Regions from separate parts of the Homo sapiens genome. Here region 2 is linked to region 1. The links are contacts of gene promoters, found by promoter capture Hi-C in human tissues and cell types (Jung and others, 2019). All regions are on one chromosome and are shown on one strand. The core of a region is centred on a gene start or on the middle of the fragment in contact, and the rest is flanking DNA. Distances in the headings are between cores, read along the strand shown. Region 1 holds the start of AURKB (aurora kinase B). Region 2 overlaps ALOX12 (arachidonate 12-lipoxygenase, 12S type).

Evidence for each region. The method cuts DNA at HindIII sites, captures the fragments that hold promoters and counts their contacts. A contact is called where the count stands out against the background at its distance.
Region 2: a contact is called between a fragment that was not itself captured here and the fragment with the promoter of AURKB in region 1, in 1 of the 25 tissues and cell types used here (pancreas).

What each region holds. Positions count from the first base shown.
Region 1 is chr17:8,208,977-8,212,729 of GRCh38, forward strand. It overlaps AURKB (aurora kinase B), which reads right to left and starts at 1,599. Exons shown (of 9, transcript NM_004217.4): 1 at 1,554-1,599; 2 at 1,201-1,273. The coding sequence starts at 1,248. RefSeq lists enhancers at 831-1,490, 1,052-1,101. The HindIII fragment of the contact is 18,109 bases long and covers 1-3,753 here.
Region 2 is chr17:7,000,295-7,003,734 of GRCh38, forward strand. It overlaps ALOX12 (arachidonate 12-lipoxygenase, 12S type), which reads left to right. Exons shown (of 14, transcript NM_000697.3): 7 at 42-185; 8 at 1,308-1,517. The region is part of intron 2 of ALOX12-AS1 (ALOX12 antisense RNA 1); the gene reads right to left. Among named protein-coding and RNA genes, the nearest start is that of ALOX12, 6.0 kb to the left of the region's middle. The HindIII fragment of the contact is 2,751 bases long and covers 273-3,023 here.

The DNA.
Region 1 (3,753 bases), core at 349-2,848:
GAGCTACCCTGATGGCCCTGGACCACTTCTCACTTTCAACTTCTTCATTTTTTTTTTTTTTTGAGATGGAGTCTCGCTCTATTACCCAGGCTGGAGTGCAATGGTGCCATCTCGGCTCACTGCAACCTCCACCTCCCAGGTTCAGGCAATTCTCCTGCCTCGGCCTCCTGAGTAGGTGGGATTACAGGCACATGCCTGGCTAATTTTTGTATTTTTAGTAGAGACGGGGTTTTACCATGTTGGCCAGGCTGGTCTCGAACTCCTGACCTCAGGTGATCCACCTGCCTCAGCCTCCCAGTGCTGGGATTACAGGCGTGAGCCACCTACCTGGCCTCACTTTCAACTCTCAAAATAATAGGTACATTTTCTTTTAGGAGTGACTAAGGTAAAAGTGACAATGGTTTCTCATTCAGACTCCATTCCTGACAGCCTCACTCAGTGCTCCATGAGGGAGGGAGCTGATGTACAAGGGAACAGACAGACTCTCCAGGAAGCAAGAGCTCCAAAAACAGGGAGCAAAGCCTGTGCAGGGCCCCTTCCTTCTTCTGCAGCCAAGAGAAGAAAGCCCCTAGGCCCCAAATAGTGATATTGGTACCAATCTACAAATAAGCAAGTTGAATAAAATACAGTCCAGAAATAGACCCACATATATGTGGGAATTTATATATATAATAAAGGTGGCATTTCAAATCAGAGAGGAGGCCCTTCAATGAAATCTGTCTGGACCATTGGGAAATAAGTCAATTTAGATCCATTTAGATTCTTACCTCAATTTAGTCATTAATTCCAAATTGTAATTTAGACTTGCCCTGGGCCTTTTAAACTGTAACTTTATATCCTTTTAGAGTCTATTTCTATTTGCTGTCTAGTTTTTTTTTTTTCAGGATATGGATTGGGAATCATGGCCTGAAGGCCAGGCCCTGCCTGCTCAGTCCCAGATATCATTTGTATGTGACGAGCCCTGCAGAGGTCCTCACCAGCTGGGAGTCACTGGCTGGTCAGATTCACGTTGGCAGCACCTGACAGGATGTGGCTACAAATGACCAGAGCGGGTTCTGTCGTCAAACTTGGGACCCGTACTTTGGAGCATAACGGGGAAGAAAGTGCTTAAAGGATTGCTCATTGCAGGATCTCAAGTTTCCCAGCAGGAACTCGCCATGCGGGGTCATGGGGGCGCAGGGACGGAGGGAAGGGCCTTACCGTCTGTCGGCCGTAGGGCCAGGGGTAGGAGTTCTCCTTCTGGGCCATCCTTAGAGAGAAAGGGGGAGGAGAGCTGGGCGGAGAAGGGAAACAGCCGTGAGAAGCAGAGAAAAAGAGAGAGAGAGGGAGGGGTTGGACCGATCGAGCCGGAAGCGCTAGCCCGAGCTGGTAAAAGGGAGCAGGTCAGCACACTAGCCCCAATCTGGGCGCTGGTCTCACCGCCCCCGCCCTGCTATCGTCCCTACCTCCTTCCAGCCCTGCGGCGTGCGCGCAGGCCAGCCCAACGGACCCTCTGATCTACCTGATCATCTGCCCACTCCCGGCGCAAGGCCTGCGACAGGAGGCCAGCTCACCTGGGGTCCAAGGCACTGCTACTCTCCCGGCCGCCCGCAAACAACTGAATCTGCCACGCCGCGCCCTGGCCAAGGACTTTTCAAATCTCCCGCCCCGGCCCCATTGGGCAAGCTCGTCGCCCATGCCTAGTTCCCATTGGCTCGATGTCCTGTGACGTAAGTCATGGGAACCCAATGGAAGAGGCGGAATGAGAAGGGCTCACGCTTGGCTTCCAGTTTAGGAAAGTTTCCCCAAATTCCCCCAGTGAATTATCTTGCTTTTTCTTTTCTTTTTTTTTTTCCTTTTTTGAGACAGGTCTCTCTCTGTCGCTCAGGCTGGAGTATAATGGTGCTATCTGGGCTTGCTGCAACCTCTGCCTCCCGGGTTCAAGCGATTCTCGTGCCTCAGCCACCCGAGTAGCTGGGATTACAAGCGCCCGCCACCACGCCTGGCTAATTTTTGTATTTTTATTAGAGACGGGTTTTCGCTGTGTTGGCCAATCTGGTCTCGAACTCCTGTCCTCAGGTGATCCACCCGCCTCGGCTTCCCAAAATGCTGGGATTACAGGCGTGAGCCACCGTGCCCGGCCTTCTTCTTTTTATAAAAAAAATTAAATCTTTAATGTAACTGGAGTTTATCCTTATGCATGTATGAGCTGGGGTCTAACTTCTCTGCCCGATGGAGCGCCAGTTATGTCAACACCATTTGTTAAACAAACTGCCCCAACAGAATTTAAATGCTGCCCTTGATATATAATGTTAGCATATTTACTTGTGTCTATTTCTAGACTTTGTATTCCGTTGTTTGCTCATTTGCCTGTGTGTTTATTCTTGTGTCATTACTATGTCGTTCTTAAAAGTTCTGACATTCCTGGGAGGAGTTTTTCCACCAATAGACCTTTCGTTGCAAGATCTCTGTTAGCTGCCGTGTTGTTTGGGCCCACTTTCATTTTTCCTCCTTCCTGCCACACTTCCTTCTTTTCTGCTCTTCCTAACCCTCAGATTTCATTACTGGGTTAAATAAATACATTTTTGGGCCTTCTATGAAATAACCAGTGGATATTTATTAAGTATGTACTGTCCAGCACTCTTCTCCTTTCTTCTAACACTCTATTTTTCCTTTAGGGGACCACCTGTCTCTCCAGTCTATGCAGTCGGTTTCTGTAGTAGTTTCTGTTGCTGACAACCCCAAATCCCTAGGTTGATGAAGACCTATTTAAATCTCACTTTTTTTTTTTTTTTTGAGATGAAGATTCGCTGTGTTGCCCAGGCTGGAGTGCAATGGCACAATCTCAGCTCACCACAACCTCCTCCTCCAGGGTGCAACTGATTCTCCTGTCTCAGCCTCCCGAGTACCTAGGATTATAGGTGCATGTGACCACGCCCGGCTAATTTTTGTATTTTTAGTAGAGACGGGGTTTCATCACATTGCTCAGGCTGGCCTCAGGTGATCCGCCCGCCTTGGTCTCCCAAAGTGCTTGGATTACAGGCGTGAGCCACTGCGCCCAGCTTTATTCCCACTTCTGAAAGCACTTAGAGTTTTGAGGATTTGAGAAGGAAACTGACTTCATTGCAGGTCCAGAAATGAGCCCCAATTAACTTATACTAATCAATACCTTTTATTCCAGATTATGGTTATTGGATCAGGCATAAGCCTGTGATTTAAGTGGGCCAGCTAGTGGGAATCAGTTTCTTGCTCAGAATGCTGGGCAGCTCAAGGAAACACTTAACGTTTACTGGTTTATCATAAAGTGTATTACAAATGATATAGATGAAAAGATGTATAGGGCAAGGTATGGAGGAAGAGATTTCTGGAAGTGAGCAGGGAAGCATGCAGCCCTCATTGCTGCTTCTAGTGCTACTGAAGGAAGCAGCTTGACATTGAAGCCTAACATTGCAGAAGGCAGAAGAGAGGCCTGGAAAGAACTTCAGGACTTGATGACATTGTTGAGCCTCTACATGCCTACGTTAGCACTTTTCTTACATGAACAATAGAGAAGATTATTATTCAGCTAATATCCTTTCTGAATGCATTCTAAATGCTATTTGCTGTTTAAGCATATTGTGTAGAAAAAACAAACCATGGCTAGGCTTGGCGGCTCACGCCTGTAATCCCAGCACTTTGGGAGGCTAAGGCGGCTGTATCACTTGAGCCCAGGAGTTTAAGATCAGCCTGGGCAACCTGTGAAACCCCGTCTCTACAAATAAAAAAAAAAAAAAT
Region 2 (3,440 bases), core at 398-2,897, 1.2 Mb before region 1:
ACTTTGAACTCTAAAAATGGATACATCCCTCCTGTCCCCAGAATGGTTCCCTGTTTGAAGCTGACTTCATCCTTCTGGATGGAATTCCAGCCAACGTGATCCGAGGAGAGAAGCAATACCTGGCTGCCCCCCTCGTTATGCTGAAGATGGAGCCCAATGGGAAGCTGCAGCCCATGGTCATCCAGGTAAGGGCCCCAGACCTCTCCCACAACGTTGCACTCTGTTCACCTCAACCTCTGCTCCCAGGGACCCAACCCCCAGCTCTTGGCTCCCAAACCCCATCCTCACTCAGTGAGACTTGTCTTCATGTCACTATTTGCCTGTACCCTCGTCTCCCCTGCCTCATCCAACTAGAATTACTTTTTCAAGAGTCAAAATGGCCTCCTGGAGTTCTCATCCTGTATCCAATGGTCCTCACACTTCAGTGTGCATCAGAATCACCTGAATGCCTGTTGAAATGCAGATTTCTGGATCCCATGACCAGACTTTCTGATTCAGTATGTCTGGGGTGGGAACTAAGAGTTTGCGTTTTTATAAGTTCCAAAGTGATGCTGACACTACCAGTTCAGGACTACACTTTCAGAATCACTATCTCATCTCTCAGTGGCCTCTGGCTCTGAACCCTCGCCATCTCTTGAATATCTTTTCTCGCAATTTCTTTTTTTTTTTTGAGACAGAATCTCACTGTGTCACTCAGGCTGGAATACAGTTGTGTGATCTTGGCTCACTGCAACCTGCGCCTCCTGGGTTCAAGCAATTCTCCCACCTCAGTCCCTCCAGTAGCTGGGACCACAGGCATGTGCCACCATGTGGGCCTGGCTAATTTTTGTATTTTTTGTAGAGATGGGGTTTCGCCATATTGCCCAGGCTGGTCTTGAACTTCTGGGCTCAAGTAATCTGCCTGCCTCGGCCTCCCAAAGTGCTGGGATTACAGGTGTGAGCCACTGCACCTGGCCTTCTCTCACTATTCTTAACAGTCAGGTGACAAGAACTGTCAATAATCTTACACCTCCTACTTCTCCTTCACATTCCACCACCATCTGAGCGCCGACCCCAAAGCAGCAGGTTTCTCCCACACCACTGTTAGGGCCTCCTTCTGGACCCCCTTCTTCCAGTCCCTCCTGCCTTCCACCTGACATCAGGGCACTCCAGCTAGCGAGCGGCAGGCTGGGAGGGTTCACAGTCCTCCTGCTAGACTATAACCTCCTAGAAGGCAATAATCTTACTTAGTCATCTCTGTTTCCCCAAGAATGCTGACTATAATGTCATATACGGAATGGGAGTTCAATAATTTCTCTTTCTCCCAGATTCAGCCTCCCAACCCCAGCTCTCCAACCCCAACACTGTTCCTGCCCTCAGACCCCCCACTTGCCTGGCTCCTGGCAAAGTCCTGGGTCCGAAATTCAGATTTCCAACTGCACGAGATCCAGTATCACTTGCTGAACACTCACCTGGTGGCTGAGGTCATCGCTGTCGCCACCATGCGGTGCCTCCCAGGACTGCACCCCATCTTCAAGGTACTTATTAATCTATTAAATCACATATCCCTCAGACCCCAGAGAGAGGAACAGCCCCATATCAAAAGATATTGCAGCAGCAAAAACTCTTTGTAGCAATTTGTGAGTGAAGAGGAGACTGTCTCAATATCTTGAGATGTTGATTTTAATTAAGTTTATTAAGTTTAGTCACTTAACATTATATAGGAATCCTCTGAAATTCTCAGAGATCTGACAGTCTAGCAGTGCGCTCACAGTAGGGCTTGAACACTGCTAGTAAAACAAAAGCCATATTCCTACCTTAGATCTAGTATTTAGCCAGAAAAACAAGTGATGCCCATAAGAACCAACCAGAGAACAGTATCTGGTACTAGAGTTTGAAATCACAAGGGACAGCCTATAACAGTATAGTATTGATGAAGAATGTTTCTACCCAATTGAGGAGTCAGCTAAGTAGAAACAGACCAAAAGGCAAGGAAGAACAGCCAGCAAGCCGCTCATACCTGCCCAACAGTAAGGTGGATAGAGATGTATGTTAGCATGGTAATGACAGGAATGAAAAGGAAAGAATCTAAAACGTAGTGAAGGGAGGAAATGGTAGCTGCAGCGTGCCTGGGTGCAAGAGAGAGAAAAGCCAGAAGTCCAAGCTTCTGCCACACCTGTAAGTCCCTGGGGCAGGTGTGTTATACTGACCTAGAAATACTGTGGTTTTAAGAGCTGGGTGTGGTGGTTCACGCCTGTAATCCCAGTGCTTTGGGTGGCCAAAGCAGTATGATTGCTTAAGACCAGGAGTTCAAGACCAGCCTGGGCAACACAGCAAGTCCCGGTCTCTAAATAAAAAGAAAGAAAGAAAGAAATACTGTAATTTTATAAAACAGTGAGTTCCATATATATTGCTGGGAGAAGGCAAAATAAGACCTGTGCTTGCTTAAGAAAATGTTCTTAAAATCTTGATGATACTTTATATACAGGGAACTTGGCAGAGGGAGCACAAAAATGATACAAGCTTACAAACCAGAGTAATTGTCAGAAACAGTAAAGTTAGAAGAAACCAGAGTCAGCAAAAATGAGGTGTTTGGTTTTAGGTACATGGAGTTTGATGTATTGGCAAGATATGCAAGTATGTCCTGGGTAAAAACAACCAAATTGTGTTTCAGCTGGGGGCCTCCACCAAGACCCCCCAAGCCTGGCCAGTATAGCTGTGCCGCCTCTGGAATTTTCCCCTTCGGTAACATAGACAAGATGGAGACCAGTCTGATGAATGGAATCTTGGATTTCATTCATCTCATGCTGTCTCCTGCTTCCCCATCCTCTGCTCCACACGAACAAGTGAAGCCTCTATTCACACTTACAATTCCGTTTCCTAGTTCAGTCCTCTCCGTGTCTCCACTCACCACAGTAATGCCATGCCCCAGCGGACAGCTGAGTTGCTGGCAGATGCACACAAGGGTCAAGCCTGCACATGTCTTAACAGTGGCCTATGCAGGCTCTGACTTTGGATTGCTGGGGTCTTAGTCCTGAACCCCGGCCTCAATAATTTCCAGATGTCCTCACATGTTCCATCGTGAGGTTATTAAAGGTTAAAATGACTTAATGGTGTGACACAAGCTAAATGCTACAAAAAACATTAGTTCTTGCAAATTTTTTTTTTTCAGAGACAAGTTCTCACTCTGTCACCCAGGCTGGAGTCCAGTGGCGTAATCATAACTCACTGCAGCTTCAAACTCCTGGGCTGAAGCGATCCTCTAACCTCAGCCTTCAGAGTAGCTGGGACTACAGGTGTGCACCACCATGCCTGGCTAATTTTTTTTATTTTTTGTAGAGACAGGGTTTCACTATGTGGCCCAAGCTAGTCTCAAATTCCTGGGCTCAAGCGATCCTCCTGCCTCAGTCTCCCAAGTAACCTGGATTGCAGGCACATGCCGCCACACCCAGCTAGTTCTT